6 separate regions of the Homo sapiens genome follow, and regions 1, 2, 3, 4 and 6 are each linked to region 5. The links are contacts of gene promoters, found by promoter capture Hi-C in blood cells and fetal thymus (Javierre and others, 2016). All regions are on one chromosome and are shown on one strand. The core of a region is centred on a gene start or on the middle of the fragment in contact, and the rest is flanking DNA. Distances in the headings are between cores, read along the strand shown. Region 1 overlaps ERP27 (endoplasmic reticulum protein 27). Region 2 overlaps PDE6H (phosphodiesterase 6H). Region 3 overlaps LINC01489 (long intergenic non-protein coding RNA 1489). Region 4 overlaps GUCY2C (guanylate cyclase 2C). Region 5 holds the start of WBP11 (WW domain binding protein 11). Region 6 overlaps ARHGDIB (Rho GDP dissociation inhibitor beta).

The links. Contacts are between HindIII fragments. The CHiCAGO score rates a contact against its expected background, and 5 or more counts as called.
Region 1: a fragment that was not itself captured here is called in contact with the fragment with the promoter of WBP11 in region 5 in 7 of 17 cell types (total CD8 T cells, naive CD8 T cells, naive CD4 T cells and 4 more); the score reaches 9.5 in total CD8 T cells.
Region 2: a contact is called between a fragment that was not itself captured here and the fragment with the promoter of WBP11 in region 5, in 11 of 17 cell types (total CD8 T cells, fetal thymus, naive CD8 T cells and 8 more). The highest score is 10.3, in total CD8 T cells.
Region 3: a fragment that was not itself captured here is called in contact with the fragment with the promoter of WBP11 in region 5 in 10 of 17 cell types (naive CD8 T cells, neutrophils, fetal thymus and 7 more); the score reaches 8.2 in naive CD8 T cells.
Region 4: a fragment that was not itself captured here is called in contact with the fragment with the promoter of WBP11 in region 5 in 1 of 17 cell types (neutrophils); the score reaches 5.5 in neutrophils.
Region 6: a contact is called between a fragment that was not itself captured here and the fragment with the promoter of WBP11 in region 5, in 13 of 17 cell types (fetal thymus, total CD8 T cells, naive CD4 T cells and 10 more). The highest score is 22.4, in fetal thymus.

What each region holds. Positions count from the first base shown.
Region 1 is chr12:14,932,915-14,935,614 of GRCh38, forward strand. ERP27 (endoplasmic reticulum protein 27) reads right to left here. Exons shown (of 7, transcript NM_152321.4): 3 at 1,942-2,079. Among named protein-coding and RNA genes, the nearest start is that of ERP27, 4.3 kb to the right of the region's middle. The HindIII fragment of the contact is 931 bases long and covers 856-1,786 here.
Region 2 is chr12:14,977,801-14,980,500 of GRCh38, forward strand. It overlaps PDE6H (phosphodiesterase 6H), which reads left to right. Exons shown (of 4, transcript NM_006205.3): 2 at 172-346; 3 at 1,379-1,419. The coding sequence starts at 213. Among named protein-coding and RNA genes, the nearest start is that of PDE6H, 6.1 kb to the left of the region's middle. The HindIII fragment of the contact is 3,225 bases long and covers 1-2,700 here.
Region 3 is chr12:15,005,681-15,008,380 of GRCh38, forward strand. LINC01489 (long intergenic non-protein coding RNA 1489) reads left to right here. Exons shown (of 4, transcript NR_120466.1): 4 at 681-1,003. Among named protein-coding and RNA genes, the nearest start is that of LINC01489, 5.2 kb to the left of the region's middle. The HindIII fragment of the contact is 5,674 bases long and covers 1-2,700 here.
Region 4 is chr12:14,628,311-14,631,010 of GRCh38, forward strand. It overlaps GUCY2C (guanylate cyclase 2C), which reads right to left. Exons shown (of 27, transcript NM_004963.4): 20 at 336-427. Among named protein-coding and RNA genes, the nearest start is that of GUCY2C-AS1, 36 kb to the right of the region's middle. The HindIII fragment of the contact is 6,504 bases long and covers 1-2,700 here.
Region 5 is chr12:14,802,201-14,804,900 of GRCh38, forward strand. It overlaps WBP11 (WW domain binding protein 11), which reads right to left and starts at 1,278. Exons shown (of 12, transcript NM_016312.3): 1 at 1,152-1,278. It overlaps C12orf60 (chromosome 12 open reading frame 60), which reads left to right and starts at 1,470. Exons shown (of 2, transcript NM_175874.4): 1 at 1,470-1,551. SMCO3 (single-pass membrane protein with coiled-coil domains 3) reads right to left here. Exons shown (of 2, transcript NM_001013698.2): 2 at 2,450-2,700. RefSeq lists an enhancer at 1,574-1,813. The HindIII fragment of the contact is 2,157 bases long and covers 804-2,700 here.
Region 6 is chr12:14,953,909-14,956,608 of GRCh38, forward strand. The region is part of intron 1 of ARHGDIB (Rho GDP dissociation inhibitor beta); the gene reads right to left. Among named protein-coding and RNA genes, the nearest start is that of ARHGDIB, 6.3 kb to the right of the region's middle. RefSeq lists an enhancer at 2,258-2,427. The HindIII fragment of the contact is 2,145 bases long and covers 362-2,506 here.

The DNA.
Region 1 (2,700 bases), core at 71-2,570, 130 kb after region 5:
AGTTTTGAACATTTTAAGAGTATAGTGCTTATGAGGGTATATACCCAGCAAACATTTGAATCATGAGAGAAGTCCAGACTAGGGATAAAATATTCTAAATGTTCCGCAAGCACATAATAGTGGAATATGCAAAAGAATTGTACTTCTTAAGAAGAACATATTCATTCATTCATTCATTCATTCATTGATTCTTCATATATTCATTCTAAACAAATACTTAGTGAGCACCTACTGCACAGCAGGCACTGTTCTAGGCTCTGTGGATACACTGAACAGAACAGTCTTTGCCTTCACATAGCATGGGTTCCATGACCCAGACTGTAAAAAGTGTTGGGTCAGGCAGCATTGTAGATACAGGAAGAGAAGGTCTCAAAGAGATTATAAAAGCAGCAGGAGGATCAGGAGAAGTAGTTTCCTAGAATTCAAGGAAAGAGAGAACATTAAAAAGAAAGAAGTCATCACTAACATCATACATGACAGAAATGTTGAGTAAAATAAGACCTAAAAAGGGTTCATTGAGTTTGGCAATATGGAAGCCATGCAGACCTGGATAAATGTAGTTTTAATGGTGTGATGGGGGCATAAACTAGATAGTAGTGTCTAGTTTAGAGAAAGACAGTACAAAATACACTTAAAGAAGTTTCAATGAGAAAAGAAAGGGAAAGAAAGGATGGAAACTAGAAGGGGCACGACATTCAGTCCCGAAATACTGAAAACTTTTTCTTTTCCATCAATTTACTCTTTTTCAGTGGACTCTTGATATTCCACCAACAAGTAGAACTCAATGACCAATGAAAGCATCAGAAACCCCTATTTCTGCACATGACCTCACTATTCTTAGACACCCTGGCTTTAAGCTTTGCCTGCTTTCCATAACTGTGATATCTAATGATCACAGGATCTTCCTCTTCTTTAATTTCTGTTGCTACCTCTCTACTACAGACTCTTAATACTTCTCACATGGTCTATTTTGTCAGCCTAACAAAAGCTCCCTCTTCTCTTGCCTTTTAACCTAAAAATCCATCCTCCACCTTGCTGTCAAAATAATCTAATAAAACACATTTCTGTTCATGTTACTCCCCTGATGTAAAGGCTTTAGGGGCTTTCCAGTAACAGCCAAATTCAGGACAAACTCATTAAAGTGGTATTCTACTTTTTCCCCACAATACGATTTTAATCAAGTTTCTTTCTCTTATATTCATTTTCCCCAATGTGTACCCTGGGATCCAGTGAGATTGGCCTGTTTATTGTTTCCTGAGTTTTTTCCCGTTGGCCATGAATTCTTTAGCTTGTCTAAACTTATCTATCCTTCAAGTTTCAATTCTGTTGTCTTTTTCTTTTCTTTTTTTTCAGAATTCCCACACTGTTTCTATCCTTTGAACTGTGATAAAACTTTACCCATAGTGATTCTCTTTTTATTATAGATACTTGCATATTATATATACAATACCTACCATACTTAAAGATCTATGAGACTGGAGAATATATTTAATATGTTTTTATTATCGGTATCTTGCATAGGGCATACAGGAAGTATTTAATAAATGTTTGAAGAACATAAATGAACTCCTCAAAATATTTAATATAAAAATTTTGGAGCTCAAAGTGACCTTAGAGATAATACAGTCTAACTCTTTTATTTTATAAAGGAAAGAATTGGAGATAAAAAATGTTAAGTGACTGCCCAAAGTCATGTGGCTGTTGAGCGACAAAGCAGTACCACAAATTCCATTCCCTGGCTTTCAGTCCTGTCCTCTTTCCATTTCATTACAGTACCTGTTTGGGAAGCTTGAATTGAGTCATCATCCTTGTCAACAATGTCCCTGAATTTGGTACCATCATTAGTGTAAAAGACATAGAGTCCTTTCCAGTCTCACAAGTTTATGAGTCCACAACCCAGTGAAAATCTGGGAGAAAGCTCAAGCTACCCACCCAACTTACCAGGCGAAAGAGGCAGATGGTGTTCCCAGTGATGTTGTAGTGTGTCAGAACCTCAGAATCAGTGCTGATCCCAAATGACACGCCTGGGAATTTTTGCACCATGCTATGGAGTATGGGCACTGCTGGTATTTCTAAATCCTAAAAACAAGAGAAAAAATAATACCACAGTGGTTATTTCGAAGGGCAGAGACAAACGATAGGCAAAAGAAATATGATATGATGTTTACCAGAAATCATAGATTTGATTTACTGCCCAGTAACACATGATTTACCCCTAACAATTCAGGTTTAACTGGCAGTGACATTCTTGAATTTTCCAGGCTCTGTAAGTTAATAGGTAACCACGAAATTGTAGCTGAGCCTGAGACTCCTGTCAGGCCTTGTCATAGAGCTTGAAGTTTACTAGGGGCTGAGAGAGGCCTCAAAATCATAAAGGCCTGCCTAGTTTGGCTGCACTGTTGTAGATACACATGAGAAGCAACTCTTCTGGGAACAATTTGTTTAACGGTGAAATAGCAAACAAACTAACATAACCAACTCTATTTTTGTTTAAAGGGCATTTATTTACTCATTCCTGCATGTAGGTTAGAATAATTTTAGAGCACTGAGATAATAGGCAAAAATAGGAGTTATATAGTTTTTAAAACTAACTCTGGGATTAAAGGAAAAGTATGTAAACAACTAACTATGTAGTGCTACAGATTTATAGGTGCCTTGTGACCTGACCAAGGACAAAGAAGTTCCCAACTTCCTGAGACA
Region 2 (2,700 bases), core at 170-2,669, 180 kb after region 5:
TTTTCTTAAAGATCCCTTTTAAAGATGATAACTTCTCCCCTTTTGTGTCAACACAAAATACTGAGCTTTCTTGTTGAAGTACTTTTCTTCTCCAGCCTGAAATAAAGATCTAATAACCAATGGTCCCCATGACTTGAAAGATCTTCTTTTTTTTATCTTTCACTGTCTAAGGAGGCTGAAAGGGAAACATCAGCCGCCCGGGGGGAGTTAAAATGAGTGACAACACTACTCTGCCTGCTCCAGCTTCAAACCAGGGTCCTACCACCCCACGCAAAGGCCCTCCCAAGTTCAAGCAGAGGCAGACTCGCCAATTCAAGAGTAAACCTCCAAAGAAAGGTGTGAAAGGGTAAGACCAAAATGAAAAGAAAAACTTTCTATTACTTTCTTTTTCCCACAAGACTGCTTTTGTTTTGGGAAATTGGTGCTCACAATATTAAACAGACTTACAAAAATTTCCACTCCATCCTCTCTTTTCCTCTGTAACTCCATCTTTGATGAATTGTGTCTTTATCCCTGGAATTCTTTCCTTCTCAACTTCCAGGTCTGTGGCCGAATTTAACATGGCAAATAGAGGCTTTTTACAATAAACTTTGACTTTGCCTTGCAGGCTTTTGATGACCACTCCTCTTTACTGAGACAACCTCTACGTTAATCTGTAACACTGAACCACTGACCATTTCCAGAAAATATAGCTTATATTTATGTCTTCCAATTTTGTATCCTCAGTTCTTTATTTTCCTCTTCCTCTCCTTGGCAAAATCCTATTGATTTTTCAACACACAGATCATATGCTAATTTCTTTTTGAAGCTACTCCTGACTCTCTTTAACAAACTATCATTACTTTCATGTTTGCATTTTGTACATTCAGCTATCATAACTTACATTATATCTTATATTTATTTATTTGTATCTATTCTCCGAGGCTAAGACCACTCAGAAAATTTGTCTGTTTTCTTCTTAACTCTCTGTGCTTAATAAAATGCCTGGTATATAATAGATGCTTAGTTAATGATTTTGAATAAGTAAACAAATGGATGAATTCATCATTTTTAATGCCTTTTGTATTGCTTTCTCATTTCAATTTTTATTATAAAAAGTGAAACTTGACTAAGTTGTCCCACTGATGGTTCTTTCTGACTCTTAATTGTTTTAGGTTAAGTTCCTACAGGAGAGAAATATCTCTCCAGTGGGATACACCAAAACCTGCCTGAGTGACATTTTCTTTGCTCCAGTTCAGGGCAAACTAAAGGAGTTTCTCACATACAAACACTTAAACCTCTCCTTCTTCCCCCTTGAATCAAGAAACTCTCCATGTGAGTGACTCCAAAATTCTTTTGCTCTAATCTCAGCTAATTTCTCCTTTATTCTTTTCCATAGATTTGGAGATGACATTCCAGGAATGGAGGGGCTAGGAACAGGTAAGCCATCCACTGATTTAAGTGAGAACTTCGCACTTGGAGTTCTGCCTTTTTATATACTTCAGGCCTCAAGGGGCAGTTGAAAGTTATGAGAAATACCCAAGGCAGAAGATCTGTGAAGACATAGAAATGTGGGGATTTAATTTACCCTCGAAATAAGTACATGTGTGCCCAGATACAAAAGCCCTAAAAGAAATCAGGGTAGGCCCAAAATTTCATAAACCTTCTTGTTTTGTCAAACAACCTTTGAGGGCATACAATGATAAATTATAGACTTTTATGGTAGAAAGATTTTCATAATTCATCTCCCCAAACTTCATTTTTCAAGGGAGAAATCTGAGACATACAGGAATTGGCAGTCTTTTGTCTGAGGCTACCAAGTGAACTATTGGAAATAAGGGTGAGGTCTGGAGATCTCTCCACTCTACCTGGCAAACCACTTCCTTACCAATTTCCTCTTTTTACACATCCTCTAGCACCCAGAGGAGGATCTTACATACTGAATGCCTGCAATATAATTTTAAAAATTGGTTACCAGATTTTTATGTATCATACAATGAATGCAATCACTGCATATTTTTTAAATTAATAGACTTTATTTCTTAGAGGAGTTTAAGACTTACAGAAAAGTTCAGCAGAAAGTAGAGTTCCTATATGTCCTCTCTACCATCTCTCTCCCCTTTTACACAGTTTCCTCTATTATTAACATCTTGTATTAGTGTGATTATATTTGATGAGCCAATGTCGATGCAGTATGTTAATTAAACTCCATAGCTTGAATTAGAGTTTTTATCCCTTGTGTTGTAAAGTTCTAAGGGTTTTGATAAATACCATGTACCCACCATTATAGTACATATTGCAGTACATATAGTATCATACAGAATAGTTTCGCTGCCCTATGCTCCACCCGGTCATCCTTCTCTCTCTCTCTAAACCCCAGACATCCACTAATGTTCTTACTGTCTCTATAGTTTTGCCTTTTCCAGAATGTCATATAGTTAGACTCATACAGTATACAGCTTTTCTGGACTAGCTTCTTTCATTTAACCATATTCATTTAAGGTTTCTCCATGTTTTTATGTGGCTTGATAGCTCATTTTTTAAAATCACGGAATGATACTCCATTGTAGGGATATACACAGTTTTTTATCCTATTGAAAGATACCTTGGTTTCTTCCAAGTTTTGCCAATAATGAATAAAATGCCCCTAAATATTTATGTGCAGGCTTTTGTGTGGACATATTTTCAACTCATCCAACACACCTTTGATAAACAGTAGCA
Region 3 (2,700 bases), core at 151-2,650, 200 kb after region 5:
TTCCACTACAACTTTGGGAACTCTGTAACTTCCCAGTTTTATTCTTTAGCACCAATCTTTTCTTCTACAGTGATTAATAGTAAAATTGTTGAATGAAAAATTGTTAGTTAGTGTGGGGAGATAGCATAAAGAGGAAAAGGCTGGGGAGAACTGCAATCCACTTTGAAGCCAGCCTTGAGAAATAGGAATCTCCACAGATGAAAAGGGAAGTCACGGCTCAGAGGAGGGGGCACACTGCCTGTGTTCCTTGTGCCTCCAGGAATAGAGGGGCCCCAGGGACTACAAAGAATCCCCAGGGACCTCAGTTTCTTCAGAAGTAGTAGCAAGTCACTTCAGAATGTTATGCATTATCTGTCTTTTCAGATTTTAATCATCTTTATGTTTGCTTGGTCCTCAGTTAAAAAAAAATATTTCCCACATAGGACTAATGGAATTGTCTTTCTGGGGTCATAGAGACAAGGTTGTCAGAATATCTCTTCAAGACAATAGTGTCAGTGACCACAGCTTGGCAATTCCTGAGCTAGATATAAAGGTAGCAAGAACAGCACTATTCACAATAGCAAAGACACGGAATCAGCCTAAATGCTTATCAGTGATAGACTGGATAAAGAAAATGGTGTGGATATACACCGTAGAATACTGTGCAGCCGTAAAAAGGAATGAAATCATGTCTTTTGCAGGGACATGGATGGACTTGGAAGCCATTATCCTCAGGAAACTCATGCAAGAACAGAAAACCAACCACTGCATGTTCTCACTTATAAGTGGGAGCTGAATGATGAGAACATATGGATGCATCAGGGGGAACAAGACACACTGGGGCCTGTTGGGGCATGGGAGGAGGAAGAGCATCAGGAATAATAGCTAATGGATTCTGCGCTTAAAACCTAGGTGATGGGTTGATCTATGCAGCAAACCACCAGGGCACACATTCACCTATGTAACAAACCTGTACAGCCTGCACAGGTACCCCTGAACTTAAAATTAAAGTTGAAGTAAAAATAAAAAGAAAAAGTCTGTGAACCCTTTAACCCCTGACCAAAGGGAAAAAGAATAAAAGAAGGTAGCAAAAATTAGAGGAGAGCTGACTCATAATTCTAAATGATGTAAGAATTCAAAACTAAACAATCCTAATAATTATTCTAAATAAAATAATTCTAAATAATAAGTGTAGTAACATAATAATAGCAAATATTTATTGATCTCTTATGATGTCCTACGTCCTGTTTTAGTCACTTTAATTGTATTAACTTGCTTAATCTTTATAACTTCCATCCATTTTATAAATAAAAAAACTGGCACAAATTGTCCAAATGAAATAGTTTTTTTTTTAATATAAACCCAAGAAGTTCTGTCCTCAGAGCTCGTACAGTTTATCATTACCTAAGACTACCTGCCTCTTGAGAAAAAGTGAATCTCTTCAGTTAAACTATGCAGATATTTGCTAATATTTGCTACTGTGCTTGTTCGTTTTGGGAAGGCGATTCCACATAATTTTGTCAGAACTCCTTTGTATGAAGATAGAATCCAGCCACCATCCTATCCTCATCATGACACTGTCATTACAACTAAGACATCAGAGTGGACATTCCCCTCTTTTCAAGAAACATTTTTGTCTACTGACTCTATGTGGAAGTCAAAGAGCTAACTATGCTTTATGTTCTTCATTTCATTTCCTGAAACTTTGATGTGCAGGTTAAAGACTGTTTCTATCTGAACTGTTTTATGGGAAAAGCTAGCTTGAACCTAACTACATGAACCTCTGGAGGCTGGGTAACCTGACTTTTTCACAAAGCAACTGATATTCGCATGTTGGGTTTTATTTTTAATTTGTCATGGTTCTTGGAGACTGCTCTGAATGTTCAATTATATTTTTAATTTCACTGCTGGCTTATTAGCTGATTAACTGAGCTGTTCTCATCTGAGCAGTATTAGGGTTTAGTAAGATCTTACATCATTCTACAGGAATCAATTTATAAACTTTGTTTACTTCAAGATTCTGGCTGACACATTAATTTAGCAGCAACAGAATTACAGATAGCGTTACAAAAAAGCTATTAGCTATTCTCTTAGAGATAATATTTATAAATGGAACGTAATTACAGCCTGGAAGCACACAGTTTCCAGAGCTAAAGGCAATAAAGCTACAGCAATAAAGAATTTACTATTAGCTCTCCTGGGACAAAGAGGGCTCCAGTGGAATGGGAAAGAGGTTGGGGTGAGGTATAGAGCTGGGAAGGCGAAAAAAGAAGGAAGAGAATGGGATCACAGGAGAGGCTCAGCTCTTCTAAACAGTAGTTATATTCCAGGCTGTTCTAAGAAGGCAGAGACTAGTGCCCGGGGAGACCAAGTCTCTGCTTCTACTATGGAAGATTTTTAAAAGTTGTTTCCAACCCGATGGAAACTTTCTCATGGGAATGGTTTGCTCACTGATATTTTCCCAAAAGATCTTTTCTCTTATTTTCCCACATCACTGGGTTTTTTAAAAAAATGTAATGACCGTTATCCCAAACAACTAGATAATATACAGCCTTTGTCCTTTAAGAGCAAATTTGGGTCTGTAAATATTTATTGAGCAGCTACTGTATACAAGATACTTTACTACGTATTTTGAGAGATACCAAGATAAATAAGATGTGATCCCTGCCCTTAAGAGGCACAAGATTTAGAAGGTGAGAGAAGATATGTAATACTGCAAGT
Region 4 (2,700 bases), core at 174-2,673, 170 kb before region 5:
CAGATTCTCAGGACTCACGCTACACTTCTAAATCCTAATTACCCACAGAAGGACCCAGAAGCTCTATTTTTAACAGACAAATTTATAATCAGCTAAAGTTTGTTTTTTAATCAGAAAAGTTTTGACCTTGAGTATGTAACTTTTCAAGTGATTATTTCCCTGGGAAAACGGTCTAATAGTCTCCATATCATTTTAATGTTATGAGGCAGTTGTTGGTTGCCACCTGGGATTTTTCACTGGAATAGACATTCTCATTCTAAGGTGCCACTGAATGTCAACTATAATTTTTTTAAAACCCTGCAATTAGTGAATAAAAGTAAACATTTCAGCAATACCCAAATATCTTGGCAAGTGTAGTCTCAATTTTTTTGAAATCTGGTCTCTTTTCTGGATCTTCCTCCCAACAGTTTTTTACAAGTAGGTACACCTGGAAGAAAAAAAAACGGGCAAATTAGCTAAGGGGATAGTAAACTAAATCAAGAGAGAATTCTTATTCTCATTGATGGGAGTGATTAAGGCAAGGAATAGTTTAAAAATATCTTCAACTCAGTGCGGACAAGAGATCCCCAGCTCTCTGGTTTCTGTCTCAGGCATGACCACCTGCATTATCTTATCCAGTTATTCCCTTGGGTGAAATTAATGAAATATGTGATACCAATTTAGATGAGGCCGGGTTGATACGGGAGACTAAGTGAATTTACAAGAGCTTGCAAGTTTTACGTTGGAGAGAGAAAAAAATAGTGAAGGTGTGGCAGGCCTCCATAACAACCGTTTTAGTACTGACTGAGTGGTTAAGTTAAATATTAAAAGCCAGTGCCCTTATACAAAGGCTGGAATGTAACAAAAGCCCACCAAGAGTTTTGCCTAGGCCTTTCCTGGGCCTTAAAACATGACAAAATAACGAAGGAATTCTTCTTAACCGGACCCATTTAGGATTAAACAACTTTTATTGGGGGTCTGAAGAAACTCCCCAGGCCTCCACAAAGAAGTTTATTGGGGGTCTGAAGGAACTCCCTAAACCTCTGTAATTTAGCAGGAGACAAGATAAGGGTAATCACTCCAGCACCTGGACTCACTTCGATTAAGTAAACTTACTGAGGCTCCAGGAGAAGGTCTTCAGGACTCAGACCTTAGTTGTAGATTAAAAGAAGTTAATCACGTATGTCTTTAAATGAATGCATACTTACATGTAGACATATAGCTTCGAAGGTATATAAGCTCTGAAAAAAAATGTAATTTTCAGGCCTTCTCCCTGTAACTGGTTACAGAAATAAAAACTCTCTTCCTCCTCAGTTCATCTGCATCTTGTTATTGGGCCACGAGAAATATCAGCCCAACCCTCAGTTTGGTGGGGGAACAAAGGCTCAGTGAATATGAGGCAAATGGCTCCAAATGGAATAAAAGCCGTACTGTCCATGGTTCTAACTTATAGCAAACAATAGTATCACCTGGGGAGCATCTGCACAATTTCTTATGCCCAGGCACCACCCTAAGTCATTCTGATTTAATATATTTTGAAGTGGTCTTAGTAGGGTTCCCAGATTTAGCAAGAAAAATAAAGGACATCAAGTTAAACTTGGATTTCAGATAAACAATAAGTAATTCCTTAGTATAAGTATGTCGCAAATATTGTATGGGCAAAGGGCAGTGGTAGATTTTTAAGCTCTTTGGTGATTATAATGCACAGCTGCAGTAGAGAAGTGACATGGAAAAAAGGGAGGTATGGAGGAAGAGGTAGGGAGACAGGAGGAAGCCCAACTGCTCATCTGCTACCACCTGTTTGCAGCTTTTTTTTTTTTAAATCAAAATGTGTGGTGAAAACCATTTGTTTTAAATAAACTTTGTTTTTCACTCCGGCTAAAAACAAGATCATAAGTGATACTAGATGCAATCCCTGTCCCTGTACTTTGTCTGAACAATTCCCTGGGAAGGAACTAGAGCCGCGGTATAGCCTGTGGTGCCAATATTCACCACTAGATGATGCTCCTGCCTTGGTAAGTCATCTGCTGACTACCTTAGAGCAGAATAGGCAGAAACAGCAAACTGGGCCGATCCTGTGCCACAGAGTGAAATACTGTCAGCCCTCTGTCTCCATGGGTTCTGCATTCGTGGATTCAACCAAATGGGAATGGAAAATGTTTGGAAAAAACAGGATGGTTTTGTCTGTGTTGAACATGTACCGACCTTTTTTTTCTTGTCATTATTCCCTAAACAATACAGTACCACAAATATTTACATAGTATTTACATCATGTTAGGGATTATAAGCAATCTAGAGATAATTTAAAGTACATAGGATAATGTATGCAGGTTATATGCACATGATATGCCATTTTATATCAGATCCTTGAGCCGCTGTGGATTTTGGTATCCACAGGGGTTCCTGGGACCAATTCCCTATGGATGGAGAGACGACTCTACTGGGTGTTTCTGGGGCATTGCTGAGTGATCTAGTTTCGACTCTGTATTCTGTTGGAATCAGTTACTTGACATGAAATTTTATTCCTCATTTCTAATTCCAGAACTGTCCAACTACACAAATGAATTAAAGATGATGCTGTTTTAGTGAATAAGGTTTTAATATTTGGATATACTCAGATTAGAAAAAAAGGGCTTGAGAAAGGATATGCTGATTGTGTGGAGGAATCCTGGAATTCGGAAAAGCAGGACGAAAGAAAGGAATGAGGAGAAGGCAGGGCTA
Region 5 (2,700 bases), core at 28-2,527:
CTTTTATTAACACAGTACCCTATTACATGACTTCTTCCTCTTATTCCAAAATAATGGGGCTTAATTTTTTGAAGCGCAGTCTTTCCAGTAATAAAGGCGGACAAATTTGCTTCCTTTTGCAAGTAGACACTTTTTAAAGGTAAGAAAGGGAAGATTTTGTCAGCCCAGTTTATTACAGTTAATGTCTCTTTCACCAAGTGTCCAACTGCCCCGAAAGCCAGATGTTTCAGAAAGCCAGATGTTTCACAGCTGTTCTGGTGGCAATTACTTCAAGACAGCGGTATCAAAGGCTCTGATTTTTAGCTTCCTCATCTAAAAAATGGGGACATCAATTACTTTATAACAAAGCTCTGATGATACAATGAGATTACAAATAAAATATCCTGTGATGTTTGACTCACTACTTAACTAAAATCTTTATAATGGATCCATATTCCTGGCCTAGCTACCATACACCCTGTCAAGTGGTTTCCTTCTAAGAAAAACTGGGGATGGGGGGGTTAGGGGGGTGGGAGAGCAGCAGGGAGTAGGAGGTAGGGAAGGAGGAAAACAAGCAAAATCAGTACATATACAAGCTCTCCCATCTTTGATTGCCTGCGTTTTTTGTGCTTTCCTTTCTCAAGTTTCCTCAGGCTCATGTTCTGAATCTCCTCCCCCACAAATGAAACACAACGGATACGAATTACAGAGAATTTTACGGAAGACACTGGAGCTTAAGTCTGCAGATTAGTTTTTTGTCTACAAGCGGAGGCGACTGGAAAATCAAGCCAAATAAGCGTTGGATAACTCTAAACAGCCAAAGAAGCTTCAATGGGATAGGGTCCAGGTTCACCAAAGGAGGCAACACCAGCAACTGACGAAACCATAGCGACGGCTGACCGACCATGACTCGAGGTACAAGACGTCAAACCTAAGGCTACTAATCAACGTGCGTAAGAAGCGGCCCCAACCGACCCGGGCGATGCCAACCGCGCAACCACTGGTCGCCGCGCCACCCCAGGCCCAGGAATAGCCCAGTCCGCAACAGGGAGACCTCAACCAGGGAGAGGAGGAGCGGGGCAAAGGGGCTGGGTGTCCCCCAAGCCGCTGCGCGGGACGTGGAAGGGACGAAAGAGGTGAGGAAGAGTAGTAAATCAATTCAATACACTCACACTTCTGCTGTGCTCCCAGGACTACGAGAAGCGGGTAGGGGGCGACTCCCGGCCTCTTTCACTTCGTAAAGGCCTTCAACTGGGTCTCTCGGTCAACCCCTCAGCTACCGCCATCTTGAAACCTCGCGCCCCTCCGCACTCCTCACGTCATTTCCCATTCCTCTGTCCCGCCTTCTCTTAGCGCCGCTTGACCCTGGAACCATAGAGAATACCCAAGAATTCCAGGACCAGAGTCTCTTCCGGTTCCATACAATACTCAATTGGTTGGTTGTCGGCTAAGAGCCCGCCTCATTGCGCTCATCTAGTACAATAGGAATTAGAAGAAGATAGCTGCTAACTGAGTGGCTGACGGTCCTGTCTCTCGAGTTGGAGGCATCTTGACTTAGTTGCTGGGAGCCTGGTACGTTGAGCCGTCCGAGAACGGTACATTCTGCAGATAAAGAAGCGTTCTGCGTTTTCTGTCTTTTGGAATTACCTTAGTTTTTGCATTTTTCTGTTTCTTATGACCCAAGCAGGTGCGATCCTTTAGGGGTGTCTCCGTGTGTAAACGAATACCCAGATAACATTTGCCACTGAGTTTAATCCGCTTTGTAAGCATCAGGTTATCCCATGTGAGCGCCTAGTACGTGTGGAAATTTAATAGACAGGCAGAACAGAACGTTTGTAGACCACCTGAACAAATAAATTAGCACCCGTATTAGAGTCGCAGATTGCTTATATGGGCGGTGATTTATTATTTGTTAGTAGTGTTTTGAAGAAGAAATACGGGGATACATATGCAGTCGGTTTTAAGTTATATGAGTGGCAAGGTTGATATATATTGGCTATATTCCCGACTGGTCTTTTCACCAGCCAAAAGTCCTCTATGATGTCACTCTACGTACGGGATTCTTCACTTAACTCTAGCCTTCGCCCTTTCCCTACCTTCTATCCCCTCTTTCCGTGAGTCAGCCCCCACTTATTTCCCTTAAAGGTAAGTTTAAACATTTAAAAAACTATCTTAGAGGATACGCTTGGTTATTTCTAATCTTAACCTGACTATCCCATGTAGGAAGGCTATTCTTACCACCAGTTATAAATATTTCAAAATATTGATGGAGATACATACTAATTTTTAGCAGAATCTTTAAACTGCCCTTGAAGGTATAAGATCGGTCCTATACCTAAACTTACCTTTGTGTTAGGAAATTCTTGATTTGATTTTAGACTGAATTTGAGTGTCAGAAAGCAATGACGAGATATTGTAGGTTAAAGCTGATAAACCAGGTAGTACATAAAAAAGAAAATAATCTTGAACTGCGAAGGTGAGCTAAGTTGTAATGTTTTGCAACTAGTTTTTTTTCTTTCCTAACACATTAGTGATCATAGTTTTGCAACTCGTTTTGAAAAACAATGCAAGAAGAGAAAGAGAAAACAGTGTATGTTGGAAATATTAAAGTCTTTCATGTAGCTAAAATTTTATATGTAGCTACTATTTTTAAGATATGCTGAGCAGTTTTTATTTCAATACATTTCTTGTACTTGGATGGGAGAATCAACTATAACAAAC
Region 6 (2,700 bases), core at 184-2,683, 150 kb after region 5:
TCTCTCTCTCTCCCTTCTTTCCTTCCTTCCTTCCTTCCTTTCTTCTTTCCTTCCTTCCTTCCTTCCTTTCTTCTTTCCTTCTTTTTTTGAGGCATAGTTTTACTCTGTCACCCAGGCTGGAGTACAGTGGCTCTATCTTGGCTCACTACAACCTCTGCCTCCTGGACTCAAGCAATTGTCTTGCCTCAGCCTTCTGAGTAGCTGGGACTACGGGCACATGCCACCTGCCTGGCTAATTTTTTGTAGTTATGGTTGAGATAGGGTTTCCCCATTTTGCCCAGGCTGGTCTTGAACACCTGAGCTCAAGAGATCCACCCGCCTTGGCCTCCCAAAGTGCTGGGATTACAGGTGCCTGGGCAGAAGCTTGCTTTTTCCTGGAGCTCCACCAGATCATTGACACAACTTAGTCTCAAGCTGAGAGTCATGTCCACCTGCTCAAAGTGTTGAATATATTGAAGCAGAAGATATCAGGTGACACCTGTGTCTGAGGGCGCATGACCACAAAGCCTGGCAGAGAAGCCCAGGTGCACATGGGTGCAGGAAGTAGACCCTTAGGAGAATTCCGTGGTCATTCCGTTTGATTTTGGATAATGCTCTCTTCATTGAACTAGGCCTTGTTATGCATGCCTGGGTTTGGGTTCTGGCTTTCCTACTAACTAGCTTTTCCCCTGTTAACTGAATGTTGCAACCACTGCGGATCTGAGTTTCCTCATCTTGGGGGATGAGGGATTAGAGCACATCATCTTTAGATGATTACTTTTCTAAGGCCTCCGCATATTTCTCCTGACCTGCAGTCATGGGTCAGCTAAGTTACCATTCAGTTACCTTATTTCACCTGTGAATATGAGAGAATATCTGTCTGTGTTTTGTTATTTAAAATGTATGTGAATCCCCATGCTAAGTGAGTAGACATTAGCTGCTCTTGGCACAGAAACAAAAAAAGGGTAACTACGTGAGATGATGGATATGTTGATTTGCTTCACTAACATTTTTACTATCGATGTGTGTCCCTAAACATTATGTTGTATACCTTAAATATATGCAATAAAATTCATCTTTAAAAGGAAATTTAAAAATTAAAAAATAAAATGTATGTGAATCCCCAACAGATGCTGCATATTTTATTTTATTTTATTTTACTTATTTTTCTCCCAGACATAAAATTATTTTTCTTTCACTGAACAGGTCTTTGCATAATAAAGGGTACCATAATAGTAATAGCAAATTGTTACTGAACACTTGTGAGCCAAAAACTCAGTTAGTACGGGATAAGTGCTTGGCATGCATTATTTCATTCAGTCATCGCAATGTTGTGAGGTAGGCACAATTACATTTTACAAGTGCAAAAACTAAGACATAGAAGAAAATATTAAATATTTCAATTACACAAGCATTTAAAATTCCTTTCCTAATATCACCCTATAGACAGTGAAAAGAGTAATGGTCTGGATTCTAAAAATGAGACATTCGCAATGCATGTATTAACAAGAGATTGATATCGGGAATACATAAATACCTCCTATGAATCAATTTCTTAAAAAGTATTTATTGTATATATTTAAGATGTAAAATATGTCTGGGATACATAGATAGTGAAAAGGTTACTATAGTCAAGCAAATTAACATATCCATCATCTCACCCACTTTTTTTTGTGTGTGGCAAGAGCACCTAAAATCTACTCTTCAGCAAAACTCAAGTACAATACAATATTATTAAGCATTGTACTGCATTTTTAACGTTATTTCTGGGTAACCTCAGTTTCTCCCGAAGCCCCAGCCATAAATGGCATATACAGTTTGACAATGATTTCTCAAATTATCTGTGTGCATATTTAACCACAAACAACAATTTTCTCTTTTTATCCTCCTATTTTATGGATGTGTGTTGAAATGAGAATAGGAATTTTATGAAAATTCTACAGACTGTTTTCCAATCCCATCATCTAAAGGACAACTGATTTTCCTATTGATAATATTGATATTATTAATACAAATTATAATAGTTATCACATGTAGTGCTAAGTGCTTTCTAGAGGATTATCTCATTTAGTTCTTACAGTAACTTTGTTGGCATCATCATTCTCTTTTCCAGACCAGGAAACTAAAGTTCACGTTAAGTAACTTGCCTAAGAAGACATACCACGTGGTAGGCAGAATTAATGTCTGCGCCCAGGTTGTCTGACTTTTAGGCACTATGCTTTATTGCTTCAGTCATCTTTAAGAAGTTATAATAAAATTAGAGTTTGTTAGTCATCTTGGGAATCTACCTGGAGGTGCACAAGCAGAGGTAAATGCTTCTTTGCAAGCTCTGCAGAGACAGCTTTAACAAAGCAGGGAAGTGTCAGATAACGATGTTTCAGCGCAACTCGGTTCCTGCGTTACCTCCTGCAAGTTGCTTAACCTCACTGGGCCCCAGTTTCATCCTCTGCAAAAAGAAGCCGTGGCATGAGAGGATCTCTGAGGCCCCTTCTTAATTTAATGACTCAAATGCTCCCTAATTTAAAGAAGCTTGTGAAATGAGAAAAGAAAAGAGGAAGTAAAAGGGAGATTGGGGAGGACTCAGCCCATCAGCATAGAATCTTCTGGATGGGCTTTCCTCACCTTCCTCAGCTGCTCATCCCCTATTCTACAAAGGGCAGAGCTGAGTTTTGCTTATTTTTGACTTTGGTCCTTTGCACAGGAAAAATGAAATGGAGAATG